Linked DNA regions of Homo sapiens: region 2 is linked to region 1. The links are contacts of gene promoters, found by promoter capture Hi-C in human tissues and cell types (Jung and others, 2019). All regions are on one chromosome and are shown on one strand. Each heading gives the region's core, a stretch centred on a gene start or on the middle of the fragment in contact. The rest is flanking DNA. Distances are from core to core; before and after follow the strand shown.

What was found. The method cuts DNA at HindIII sites, captures the fragments that hold promoters and counts their contacts. A contact is called where the count stands out against the background at its distance.
Region 2: a contact is called between a fragment that was not itself captured here and the fragment with the promoter of BAIAP2L1 in region 1, in 1 of the 25 tissues and cell types used here (neural progenitor cells).

The regions. Positions count from the first base shown.
Region 1 is chr7:98,397,719-98,404,823 of GRCh38, reverse strand. BAIAP2L1 (BAR/IMD domain containing adaptor protein 2 like 1) reads left to right here and starts at 3,734. Exons shown (of 14, transcript NM_018842.5): 1 at 3,734-4,022. The coding sequence starts at 3,972. RefSeq lists a silencer at 3,401-4,060. The HindIII fragment of the contact is 4,393 bases long and covers 2,422-6,814 here.
Region 2 is chr7:98,447,780-98,454,884 of GRCh38, reverse strand. It overlaps the pseudogene PPIAP82. Among named protein-coding and RNA genes, the nearest start is that of BAIAP2L1, 50 kb to the right of the region's middle. The HindIII fragment of the contact is 4,832 bases long and covers 965-5,796 here.

The DNA.
Region 1 (7,105 bases), core at 2,485-4,984:
GCTTTCACTGTAGTCCTCAAATTCTACCTTCTGCACAGGCATGGTTCAAGCCCAGTTCATTCTGCACACTGCAGCCCCCAGCAGACTCCCTGCCTGCACAGCAGATCATCAATACTCATTTGTATTTTGTTCAGCCAAGACCTCCCAGGCATCTATGTGCCAAGCACTGAGCTGAGAACTGCACTACTGTTTGTTTGTTTGTTTGTTTGTTTGTTTGTGACAGAATCTCACTCTGTCGCCCGGGCTGGAGTGCAGTGGCACGATCTCGGCTCACTGCAACCTCCGCCACCCGAGTTCAAGTAATTATCCTGCCTCAGCTTCCCAAGTAGCTGGGACTACAGGCACATACTGCCACGCCCGGCTGATTTTTGTATTTTAGTAGAGACGGGGTTTCACCACGTTGACCAGGATGGTCTCGATCTCCTGACCTTGTGATCCACCCGCCTCGGCCTCCCAAAGTGCTGGGATTACAGGCGTGAGCCACCGCGCCCAGCCTATTTTCAAGTTTCAATAAAAACCAACAGACATACTTGCAGAGCCGAATACATAATGGTAGAAATTATAAAGTCATGAATGCATCTCCCATATGGGAAGTGAAACCCAGTTGGCAAACCTCATGAACTAAATACTGTAAATCTGTTAAAGAAGAAGGCACCTGCTTCCATTGCCAGAAACTTGGGACTGATGTGTTATTTCCCCCTAACATCAGGAAGACATAACATTTTGGTTCCCAAGAATGGTAAGTTTTTTTTGTTTGCTTGTTTGTTTTGAGACAGAGTCTCACTCTCTTGCCCAGGCTGCAGTGCAGTGGCATGAGATCCCGGCTCACTGTAACCTCCGCCTCCCGGGTTCAAGCGCTTCTCCTGTCTCAGCCTCCCGAGTAGCTGGGACTACAGGTGCCTGCCACCACACCCGGCTAATTTTTGTATTTTTAGTAGAGACGGGGCTTCACCATATTGGTGAGGCTGATCTCTAACTCCTGACCCCAAGTGATCCACCCACCTTGGCCTCCCAAAGTGCTGGGATTACAGGCGTGAGCCGCTGTGCCTAGCTGCATGATGTGTTTTATAGTTTGCAAAACCCAATAAAACAGTCCCCAAGTCCAGGTGGTGGTTTCTGTTCTAAGTCCAGTGGTACTCACCCTCTTGATGTTCCCATCTGGGCCACACAGTGCCTTCATTGTGTATATTTCCTAGTGAACTTTATCACAAGATTAGTTTAGAAGTCTCACATCTTTCTTTTTTCTTTTCTTTTCTTTTTCTTTTTTTTTTTTTTTTGAGACAAATTTTCGCTCTTGTTGCCCAGGCTGGAGTGCAATGGCGTGATCTCACTCACCACAACCTCAGCCTCCCAGGTTCAAGTGATTCTCCTGCCTCAGCCTGCTGAGTAGCTGGGATTTAGGCATGCACCATCAAACCTGGTCAATGTTGTATTTTTAGTATAGACGGGGTTTCTCCATGTTGGTCAGGCTGGTCTCAAACTCCTGACCTCAGGTGATCTGCCTGCCTCAGTCTCCTAAAGTGCTGGCATTACAGGCGTGAGCCACTGCGCCTGGCCAGAAGTCTCACATCTTAACAGCCCATAAAAGATGCAATTGCACTCACATAGACGTTTTGGCATTTTTGTTTGTTTTTTGAAACAGAGTCTCACTCTGTGGCCCAAGCTGGAATGCAGTGGCACCATCACAGCTCACTGCAACCTCTTGGGCTCAAGCCATCCTCCTACCTCAGCCTCCGGAATAGCTGGGACTACAGATGCACACTATCACACTTGGCTAATGTTTTTAATTATATTTTTTGCAGAGATGGGGGTGGGCTCCCTATATTGCCTAGGCTGGCCTCGAACTCCTAGACTCAACCAGTCCTCCTGCCTTGGTCTCCCGAAGTGCTCGGATTACAGGCATGAGCCATCCTGCCTGGCCCCCAGATAGAAGCTTTTTGTTTGTTTGTTTTTGAGACAGAGTTTCGCTCTTGTCCCTCAGGCTGGAGTGCAGTGGTGCTATCTCAGCTCACTGCAATCTCTGCCTCCCAGGTTTAAGCAATTCTCCTGCCTCAGCCTCCCGAGTAGCTGAGATTACAGGTGCACGTGCTACCATGCCTGGCTAATTTTTGTATTTTTAGTAGAGACGGGGGCAGGGCGGTTTCACCATGTTGGCTAGGCTGGTCTCGAACTCCTGACCTCAAGTGATCCGCCTGCCTTGGCCTCCCAAAGTGCTAGGATTACAGGCATGAGCCACCAAGCCCAGAGGTTTTAAAAAATCAGAATAAGACCTCTGCCCTTGTTGGGTGCGGGTCTCAGGTAGCTAAATGGTGGTTCTTACTGGGGAGAAGGCTGTCACCCAGCCCAAGGTACATAATCCTGGAAGAGAGGCCCAAAGAAGGCAGCTGCCTCACCCTTGGGCAGGGCTGAGGCCGGGATGGAGACAAAATAGGGAGCCCAGGAGCCACACACCTCCACAGAGTTTGAGTGATGACAAGAAGAGAGGCTTCCCTAACACTTCAGCTCAGGTGGTTTTCTAAACCCTACAACAATCTCGTGAGTAGCATGGTTACACTGCATTGAGTTAAAGGTCGTTGTTAATGTAAAGTTTAAAAATGTACTACTGGGCCGGGCGCGGTGGTTCAAGCCTGTAATCCCAGCACTTTGGGAGGCTGAGCAGGGCGGATCACCTGAGGTTAGGAGCTCGGGACCAACCTGGCCAACATGGTGAAACCCCGTCTCTACTAAAAATACAAAAAAATTAGCCTGGCTTGGTGGCACGTGCACCTGTAATCTCAGCTACTCGAGAGGCTGAGGCAGGAGAATTGCTTAAACCTGGGGGGCAGAGATTGCAGCAAGCTGAGAGAGCACCACTGCACTCCAGCCTGAGGGGACAAGAGTGAAACTCTGTCTCAAAAACAAACAAAAAGCTTCTATCTGGGGGCCAGGCAGGATGGCTCATGCCAGGCAGGAGAATCGCTTGAACCTGGGAAGCGGAGGTTGCAGCAAGCTGAGATCGCACCACTGCACTCCAGCCTAGGCGACAGAGTGAGACTCCATCTCAAAAAAAAAAAAGTACTAACATTTCGGTAACTAGACCCTGGCATTTATTAATTTTTTGATATATCAGGAGCTTTCAAAACTGCAAGTGGCAGCCCGTTTTCTCCACCTAGGAGGGCCGATGCCCCCACGGGTCCCTCTAACTTTTGGGGTCAGTGAGCGGCGGGGCAAGAAGAGATCAATCAGGGAAATCAATACAACTGGGGAATGTGGCCCCTTCCCTTGGTCCCCAAAACGCAGGGCTTGAAGGAAGCCCTCATGGAGGAAGTGGGCCTCGGGGTCCCCGGGGCCAGCACCACGCGAGGCAAACAAGGGCTCCAGGACCACAGTCTAAACACCCCCAGGCTGCCCTTGCCCTAGCAAAACAGCAAAGCGAGCAGCCCACTCCACACCGGTCCCCACTCCAGGGTCTCGGGCCCTACGTCGCCGGAGCTCTGGGAGAGCCGCGAGGGGGCGCACCGTGGCCTCGCTGCCCTGTCCGCCACAGGTGGGGTGACCCCGCCCACTCGGGGGGCCCGCTTCCCTCTGGCCACGCCCATTCCAGCTGCCTGGCCCCGCCTCCTCCCCGCCCACCCCGGCCGGGCCCCGCTCACCAGGCCGCCTCAGGTGGGTACGCCACGCCCCTCCGGCCCTGCGGCCCCGCCCCCGTCTGCCCCGCCCGCCTCAGGTGGGGCCGCCCGGCCCGCCCAGCTTCCTCTGGCGGCGTCCGGCCGCTTCTCCTCTGCTCCTCGAAGAAGGCCAGGGCGGCGCTGCCGCAAGTTTTGACATTTTCGCAGCGGAGACGCGCGCGGGCACTCTCGGGCCGACGGCTGCGGCGGCGGCCGACCCTCCAGAGCCCCTTAGTCGCGCCCCGGCCCTCCCGCTGCCCGGAGTCCGGCGGCCACGAGGCCCAGCCGCGTCCTCCCGCGCTTGCTCGCCCGGCGGCCGCAGCCATGTCCCGGGGGCCCGAGGAGGTGAACCGGCTCACGGAGAGCACCTACCGGGTAAGCCCAGGGCCCGGGGCTCAGGGAGGTCAGGGCTTTCCACCTCGGGGTTCAGAAGGGGACTTTACGCGGGAAGGTACTTTCCCTCCCTCCAGCTCCCCTCCCCCGCGTCCTTCCACCTCTCCCGGTCTCTCCCACTCCTCCCCTGGCCCTCCACAGCCCCTCTTCTTCCTCCCCTGGCCCTCTCCTTCCTCCCAGTCCCTCCCCATCCCCTCCCCCCTACTTTTCCTCCTCCTTCCCTCCCCTCCTCCCTGTGCTTCTTCCCTGTCTCTCTTTCCCGCCCCGCTGTACCTCTCCCTCTGCCCCTCCGCTCCCCGTTCACTCTCCCTCCTCCCCTGCCCCTCGACACTGTCCCTCCCCTCCTCCTGGTTCTTCCTTCTCCCCCGTGTGTCTCCCCCTCCTCCCCTGTCCCTTCTTCTCCCCAGTCTATCCCCCTCCCTCCCCCTCCCCCTCCCCCTCCTCTTGGTTCTTCCTCCTTCCCCGTGTGTCTCCCCCTCCTCTCCTGGCCCTTCTCCGCCTCCCCTGTCCCTTCTCCTCCCCGTCCCTTCTCCTCTTCCCTGACCCTCAGAGCTCTGGAGACCACCCCCCATCCCCTGACCAGCTACACATTTTACAACTAGTGCACTTAAGTTGGGGAGGGGTCTGTTGTGCGTCGGTGGGGCCCACGTCCTCCTCCCAACTTCTTGGAATCAGTGACCCGTGCTGTCCTGGCTGCCGGGCTTAAGCCCTCCGGGACCAAAGACACAAGCTCGAGTTTCCTCTAAGAAAAGAAAGCGCCCAAGAATGTGGGGGTGAAACTCCCCTGTAATTAGGATCGCCAGGTGAGCCGAGCTCTGGGCGTTCTCCCGGGAAACGCCCTCCTCCTTAGACCCTTCCTCTCCCACCTTTCAGTTGAACTTGGCTTTTATATATGGGTTATTTGGTGAGGTTCTTGAAGTCAAAGAACAACCGAGGTTTTAATGAAATTGACCTAACCTTAAGGAATGCGTTGATAGCCGGTCTCTTAACTTGCATGTATTAGGAGAGAATTTTTCCAGACACAGACAGAGACTTAGGATTAGTGGCCTGTTTAGTTTACATACTTACAAATGAATTCCAGGTGAAATAAGATATCTGTTAATCATCTGCTATTAATAGAACACAAAACAACTTTTGTTTTAATTCAGCCTAGGCGCTTCGAACCCTTGAAACTTTAACGTTCTCTAAGTTCATGTATAGGCATGTTTAAGGTTATAAATAAATGGTTGGTCGGTTGGTTGGTTGGTGTGTTTTATCTTTTTTCTGTCCCTGGTGCTTGAATCAGGAAGTTTAGTCATTTTGATAGACTTTTTTAAACCTAAAATTTTAGTTTCTGGGTTTTCAAGGTCTGAATTCCTAAAATCAGAGGAGTCTATTAACTTTTGTTGAATGAAAGTAAGAGAAGAACATGAACATTTTTGTTATGTATTGAAATCCAAGAGATCCGTTCCGTTTATCTTAACACACAAAGTGTATACTGTCACATATAAATTATGCCTTACAGGTAGGGAGAGTAGACACAGTTGACACAGCGTTTTTGATGCTCAGTCACTGTGACCAAAAACTCTTCTATTCGTGTGTTGCCTTCATAGAGGGCGATCTTTAGAAATTTGAGAAATTCGAAATTTGAGAAATTCCTACATTTGTATTGAGATTGCTACTATTTAAATGACCCGGAAGACGTTGCTGCATGAGGTGTGGGGTACTGACCAAGTGTGTAAATAAAACGTTCTTTCTGCCAGACTCAGACCTGGAAAGTAAGTAGTGGCTGCTCTGTTGACTGTCAGTGAAGGAAAAACTGTGTAATTGAGGAAGGCAGGCCATTGCAAATTTGAGGCAGAGTCTGATGTCCACTGGGGTGCAAAAATACAGAACACCACTGCCTTCCGCCCTTCTTCCAAGAACAGCCCTGTGTATCTTCCCAGTCTGAGCTGCGATTGCAACTTGAGACCAGCAGTCAGGTGTTCTGAGTTAAACCCTGCTTTTTTTCTCCCGCTTCTTCCTGACGTAGACTTTTAGTAATAACTCCTTAGAGGGACCGTACCAAGGCGAATTGCAGCGTCACAAATGCCAACCACTTGGGCATGTCTTATTACCCAAAGAACGGAAACGGCAGGGAAAAAGTGTGGATTTCATCATTTTGGTTATACGTATTTGTAGACGTAAGGCACTGTAAATGGAGATCAAAGACCAGTACCTGATAGTTTTCCATTGCCAGGTGTCTGAAAGCAAACTGGAAAGCTCACTAAATGTTTGTTCGTTTTAATTACTATTTCCTTGTTAGTGTTTTGGGACCTTTTTTTTTTTTAATGTCCAGGTGGTAGGATATTTACAGCATCAGACTACAAGTTTATGTAATCTATGAAATAGTGAAGGCTGCTAGCCCATGCTTTGGCTTTGGCAGTGCAAAGTGAAATTTTAATTCAGGAGTCTGAAAAACCTTTTCCCGCCCCTGTATTGGGTTCTTCCCCCTATCCAGCCCTGCCCCATGATGTTCAAGCTGAAAACAGTTTAAGCTTAATATGGCAAAAATCTGGCAGTGTTGATGAATCTAGTGCTTTTAAGAAGAGATGTCCTCTATATTACCTAACCATCTACCATATTTTACTAATAGAAATGCAACACAACCAGGTGTGTTTACAAAAGCCACCTGCAAATGATTTTTTAATGACTTGCTAGTATGGGTTTTAGTTTTTTGTTTTTAAATACTCAGGTTTCTCCAATTATGAAATAAAGGAATACTTTAGAGAAAAGGAGGAATTATAAAGTAGAATGATCCTCTGTAGCCAATATCAAATATCCTTAAATATATGCTGTGTACACATTTGCTGAAATGTCTAAAATGTATACGTAGGCAAATGATTATGGGAGATCCATGCTAACTCCCAGGAGGATGTGTGTATTTTACTACTTCATAAACGATGTTATAAGCCCCAAAATGTCCAGTAATGTTGCTGTTACTAATTAGAGTTCAGCCAAAAATCCCTCCCCACTCCACACTTTATAGCATGCCCATAATTTGCCCTCAAAAGCTTGCTGTGATTTTGCATGGTTTTCTGATGAGT
Region 2 (7,105 bases), core at 2,131-4,630, 50 kb before region 1:
AGGAGTTTGAGAACAGACCGGGCAACAAAGCCATATCCCATCTCTACAAATAATAATAATAAATTAACCAAGCATGGAGGCACACACCTCTAGTCCCGGCTACTCAGGAGTTTGAGGCAGGAGGATCGCTTGAGGTCAGGAGTTCGAGGCTGCTGCAATGAGCTATGATTGTGCCACTGAACTCCAGCCTGGGTGACAGAGTGAGACCCTATTTCTTGAAAAAGAGAGAGAGAAGCTTTGCAGACACTGCCGCCACCAGGAACTCTGTACTATCAGCCATGGTCAACCCCACCGTGTTCTTCGACATTGCTGTTATCGACGAGCCCTTGGGCCGCGTCTCCTTCAAGCTGTTTGCAGACAAGTTTCCAAAGACAACAGAAAACTTTCATGCTCTGAGCACTGGAGAGAAAGGATATGGTTATAAAGGTTCCTGCTTTCACAGCATTATTCCAGGGTTTATGTGTCAGGGCGGTGACTTCACACTCCTTAATGGCACTGGTGGCAAGTCCATCTACAGGGAGAAATTTGATGATGAGAACTTCATTCTAAAGCATACAGGTCCTGGCATCTTGTCCATGGCAAATGCTGGACTCAACACAAATGGTTCCCAGTTCTTCATCTGCACGGCCAAGACTGAGTGGTGGATGGCAGGCATGTGGTCTTTGGCAAGGTGAAAGAAGGCATGAAGATTGTGGAGGCCATGGAGCACTTTCGGTCCAGGAATGGCAAGACCAGCAAGAAGATCACCATTGCTGACTGCGGACAACTCTAATAAGTTTGACTTCTGTTTTATCTTAACCACCGGACCATTCCTTCTGTAGCTCAGGAGAGCACCCTTCCGGCCCATTTGCTCGCAGTATCCTAGAATCTTTGTGGTCTCGCTGCAGTTCCCTTTGGTTCCATGTTCTCCTTGTTCCCTTCCATGCCTAGCTGGATTACGGAGTTAAGTTTATGATTGTGAAATAAAAACTAAATAACAAAAAAAATATAAAGAGAGAGAAATGGAGGTGTTGGCCCCCAGGACAGGAAAACCCCCAATATGGGATCATATGGGAGCTTTTTTTTTTTTTTTTTTTTTGTGACGGAGTCTGACTCTGTTGCCCAGGCTGGAGTGCAGTGGCGCAATCTCGGCTCACTGCAAGCTCCGCCTCCCGGGTTCACGCCATTCTCCTGCCTCAGCCTCCCGAGTAGCTGGGACTACAGGTGCCCGCCACCATGCCTGGCTAATTTTTTGTATTTTTAGTAGAGACAGGGTTTCACCGTGTTAGCCAAGATGGTCTTGATCTCCTGACCTCGTGATCTGCCTGCCTCGGCTTCCCAAAGTGCTGGGATTACAGACATGAGCCACTGCTCCCAGCCCCAATATGGGATCTTACAGACATTCATCTACTAGTGCTTCTCTGTCATGGGCCCACCCATCCACATGAGGACTCAAAGAGACCTCAAGCCCTTCCTCCTGCTCTTGGTACACTATGCCTGGTGCACTTCTCAAGTCCTTGCTAACAGTGGTCTCAAACATTTCCCCCAGCAAACTCACCACAACTGGCACATCCCAAGGAGAGCTCATGGATAGGACCACAGTGTCTGCCACCGGAATCCTTTCTCCATCAAGAAATGACTCCAAGTTCTTAAGAAATGGGACACCTCTTAAGGTAATGCTAAAAATTCCTTTCCAGCCTTTAACTTCATGAAGCTTTTTGACTTCCTTGGTTTAATGAATGTATGGGAAAATCTGGTCCTCCAAATCTGTGCATCCTCCCAAAAATAGTAATTCCGATCACGGCATGCTTTTCACAGTGTCGTCCCTTTGACACAGGTGCTATTTTAAGCCTGATGAATTCCTTCAGTAACATAACATTCAACAGTTAGGTGGTACCTGTGGCACCCACCACCAGGCCTGGCACAAAATAAGCCCTCGAGAGATCATTTCTTGGCTGACAAAATGAAATACGGTGTGGCGTTCTCTTGGCTCTGCAATTACTGCGATGCAATTCTGACGCCAGGCACTTGGAGTTAACATCTGACTCCACAGGTTTAAGAGCATGGTTCCCAGCAACACCGCCCTCATTTCAGAGGCCAGTTCAGGGGTCACCAAGACACATGCACTTCTGACCAACTGGCCACCAATCTGGGAGGGGAAGAGGTTTCATGATCCTCCTCGGGATCAATAATTTACTAAAATGACTCAGAATTCAGGTAAGTTCTATATTTGCAATTACAGTTTTATTATAAAGAGTACAAATCAGGACAAGCTAAACAAAGAGACACATAGGGCAAGGCCTGAGGGTGGTGGGAGGGGGCAGGGTCTCAAATGCATGGTCTCTAGGCCCTCTCCCCATAGAATCTGGCACACCTCTATGTTCATCAACAAGGGTGCTCCCCCAAGCCTCAGTGTCCACAGTTTTTACTAGGGTTTCATCATAGACATTATTAATTGAATAACTGGCCATGTGACTGAACTCAGTCTCCAGCCTCCCACCCTACCCCACCCCACAGACTGGGCTGATATCATCTGGCTCAAAGCCCCAACCCTGTAATCACACGATTGGACTTCCTGGCATGGCCAGCTCCCATCCCAAGTCACCTCATTAACATAAACTCAGGTATGGGCAGTCTGTGTGAATAACACACACTCCTATCACTCAGGAAATTCCAAGAACTTAGACGCTCCCTTTCAGAAACCAGGGAAATTCTTTATTCTAGAACAAAATTTTAATTATACAACAGCTCAGATCTTGGGTGATTATTTTATTTTGTTGAGTTGGGGTCTTGCTCTGTTGCCCAGGCTGGAGTGCAGCTGTGTAATCGTGGCTTACTGCAGCCTTGACCTTCCAGACTCCAGCCATCCTCCCGCCTCAGCCTCCTGCATAGCTGGGACTACAGATGTAAGCCACACGCCCGGACTGGCTAATTTTTTTTTTTTTTTGGTAGAGATGGGGTCTCACTATGTTGCTCAGGCTGGTGTCTAGCTCCTGGGCTCAAACCATCTTTCTGCCTTGGCCTCCCAAAGTGCTGAGATTATACGTGTGAGCCACTGCACCCAGCTTTGGGTGATTACGTTAATAAGTGACTCAACTGAACACAACAGCTGAGTTCCAAAATTCTGATGGTCACTCCCTAAAGGTAATCCAAATTAATCCCATGGGACCCGTTTCCAATGTGGCATCACCTTCAAAGACATATACCCATTAAATAAAAACTACCAAATGATATCTGATGAACGAATGCTTGTGGCTCTCAATTAAGATTACATATTAGGCTGGGTGCGGTGGCCCATGCTGTAATCCCAGCACTTTGGGAGGCCAAGGAGGGAGGATTGCCAGAGCTCAAGAGTTCCAGACCAGCCTGAACAACATGGTGAAACCCCATCTCTACTAAAAATACAAAAATTAGCCAGGCATGGTGGCATGCACCTATAGTCCCACCTACTAGGTAGGCTGAGGTGGGAGGATCACTTGAACCCAAGAAATGGAGGTTGCAGTGATGCCACTGCACTCTGGCCTGGGTGACAGAGCGAGACTCCATCTCAAAAAAAAAAAACGAAATAGGGGCAGGGTGAGGTGGTTCATGCTTGTAGTCCCAGCACTTTGGGAGGCCAAGACAGGAGAATTGCTTGAGGCCAGCAGTTCAACACCAGCCTGGGCAATCATAGAGATAGTGAGACCCCTATCTCTATGAAAAATTTAAAAATTAGCTGGGCATGGTGGTGCACACCTGTAGTCCCAGCTACTTGGGAGGCTGAGGTGGGAGGATTGCTTGAACCCAGGAGGTCAAGGCTGCAGTGAGCTGTGTACTGCTGCACTCCAGCCTGGGTGACAGAACAAGACCCTGTCTCAAAAAAAAAAAAAAAAAAAAAAAAAAGAAAGAAAGAAAGAATGTCTTTTCCAGCAACTTGGATGAAACTGGAGGCCATTATCCTTAGTGAAGTAACTCAGGAACAGAAAACCAAATACTGCATGTACTCACCAATAAGTGGGAGCTAAGCTATGGGTATGCAAAGACATGCAGAGTGGGGACATTGGAGACTCAGAAAGGGGATGATGGTAGTGGGTGACGATGAAAAACTACTTATTGGATACAAAGTACACTACTCAGGTGACAGAGGCTCTAAAATCCTAGGCTTCACCACCATACAATTCTTCCACATCCCAAAACCCACTTGTACCCCTCAAGCTACTGAAATGAAAAAAAACTTAAAAATAAATTTTTGGCTGGGTTCTGTGGCTCACGCCTGTAATCCTAGCACTTTGGGAGGCCAAGGCTGGCAGATCACCTGGGGTCAGGAGTTTGAGACCAGCCTGGCCAACATGGTGAAACCCTGCCTCTACTAAAAATACAAAACTTAGCCAGGCATGGTGGCACATGTCTGTAATTTCAGCTACTGTGGAGGCTGAGACAGGAGAATCGCTTGAACTTGGGAGGCGGAGGTTGCAGTGAGCCAAGATTGTGCCACTGCACTCCCGCCTGGTCAACAGAGTGAGATTCCGTCTCAAAAATAAATAAATAAATTTTGTTTGAGACAGAGTCTTGCTCTGTTTCCTAAATTGAAGGGCAGCAGTGCTATCATGGCTCACTGCAGCCTCAACCTCCTGTGCTCAAGTGATCCTCCCACCTCAGCCTCCTGAATAGCTTGGACTACAGGCTCATGCCATCACATCTGGCTAATTTTTGTAATTTTTCCAGGGATGGGGTCTTATTATGTTGCCTAGGCTGGTCTTGAACTCCAGGCTCAAGTGACCCTGCTGCCTCGGCCTCCCAGGTAGCTGGGACTACAGGCACGCACTACCACACCTGGCTAATTTTTTATTTGTTATAGAGATGGGGTGTCACTATATTGCCCAGGCTGGTCTCAAACTCCTGGCCTCAATCAGTCCTCCCACCTCTGTCTCCCAAAGGGCTGGGATTACAGGCATGAGCCACCATGCCCAGCCACTATTTTTTCTTTTTAAAAAAATTTTTGGCTGGGCATGGTGGCTCACGCCTGTAATCCCAGCCCTTTGGGAGGCCGAGGCAGGTGGATCATCTGAGCTCAGGAGTTCAAGACCAGCCTGGCCAACATTGTAAAACCCCGTCTCTACTAAAAATGCAAAAATTAGCCGGGTGTGGTGGCACGTGCCTATAATCCGAGCTACTCGGGAGGCTGAGGCAGCAGAATCACTTGAACCTAGGGGCAGAGGTTGCAGTGAGCTGAGATCATGTCACTGCACTCCAGCCTGAGGGTCAGAGTGAGACTCTCAAAAAATAAATAAATAAATAAATAAAATAAAATAAAAAAGAAAAGAAAAAATAAATTGACAGAGCCACACCGAGTGTAAGAAACTAATCAGATCTATTCAGCTAGAAAACCAATTTTGCACAACTGTGTCCATTTTCCTCCCAAGGAGTTTTACACCTTGATGCAAATCGGGAGATTGTTGGAAAGTGGAATTTCATGTTAATTTGCATTTCTGACCGTGGAGGGGTAGGTGAAATGTGACTTCTTTTCTATGGCACAGATAAGAGTGGCACTCTGAGAGGCTCAAAAGGAAGCTTCCTCCCCCAAATGCCATCCTCAACATAACCGTGAAACAAAAATGGCGCATCTCAGAAGGACCTTGGTGGTGTCGTTGGAAGGTAGATTAACAAGAATGATACCTGCAAGCTGTAATTGTGCTTGCTTTCCCTGACATACAGTAGGTGCCCCATAAACCTCTGATGGCTGGATGAATTAACAAGTGAATGAGCTCTTTATTCAAGGGTCCTACCCCAAACCAGCATCCCTCAACCAGTCCTTCCATCACCATCTAGGTGATTGGGGGTTGTTGATGGAAAAAGGCAAGAACCAAATTTGCAAACTCCCCTGCTGGCTTCACAATAATTCATGCTCATCTGCGTCTAATAAAATATAGAAGCAATTTTACAGGAACATTTTGTGCTTTAGCGATTCATTTAACTCTTTCCTCCAGGGGGCAAGTCGTATATCCTCATCCAGATATGTGGGAAGTTCCGTGAATAAATCTGCAAATATCTTAAGATGAAATGTTCCTCTCCCCACCGGGAGCCCTGACTCTAGCGAAGGAAAGCTTGTAAGTGAACACCAACCGGGCTTATCCTGGCCTCCTCTCCTACCCATAGTTTCCTGCCCCTGTGTCTGTCCCACTGCCCAAGTGACCTGAAATTGCTAGAGGAGGTGAGTGCTGAAGTCAGCGTCCTCAGAGCCAAGGACATTGTCTTCTAGAACCAAGTTCACCCCTTTACTTGGCAGGACCTCCAAGAGATGAGCTGCTGTCCACCCCATCAGCCCTCAACACCAGACCACCAGGAAGGACAGACGCTCAGGAGCCACAGCCGCTGCCACCATCCCCTCAGACACCACGAACAGCCCCTTCACTGTTCCTGGCTGTGTCTGCCTCTATGAGCTGCCCCCAAACTCCTTGCAGATTTAGGAACTGATGAATAAAAATGAGTAACACCTGCCCCAAGCTGCCTATTGCTCCATTCACGTCCTGATTTTCTGGGTCACCAATTTTTTTTAATTAAACTTTTCATTTTCAGATGATTGTAGATTCACATGCGGTTGTAAGAAATAATACAGAGAGAGCTCTTGAACTCCCTTACCTGGTTTCCCCCAGTGGTAGCATCTTGCAAAACTATAGTACAATATTGGGTCACCAATTTTCTTTTTTCTTTTTCTTTTTCTTTTTTTTTTTTTTTTGAGCCGGAGTCTCACTCTGTCACCCAGGCTGGAGTGCAGTAGTGCAATCTCAGCTCACTGCAACCTCCACCTCCCAGGTTCAAGCAATTCTCCTGCCTCAGCCTCCCAGGTAGCTGGGATTACAGGTGCCTGCTCCCATGCCCAGCTAATGTTTTTGTATTTTTAGCAGAGATGGGGTTTCACCACGTTAGCCAGGCAGGTTTCAAACTCCTGACCTCAGGTGATCTGCCCGCCTTGGCCTTCCGAAGTGCTAGGATTACAGGCATGAGTCACCGCGCCTGGCCCAATTTTTTTTTTCTTTTTTAGGAGGCAGGGCCTCGCTCTGTCACCCACACTGGAGTGCAGTGGCACAACCATAGCTCGCTGCAACCCCTACCTCCTGGGCTCAAGCAATCGTCCCCAGCTTCAGCC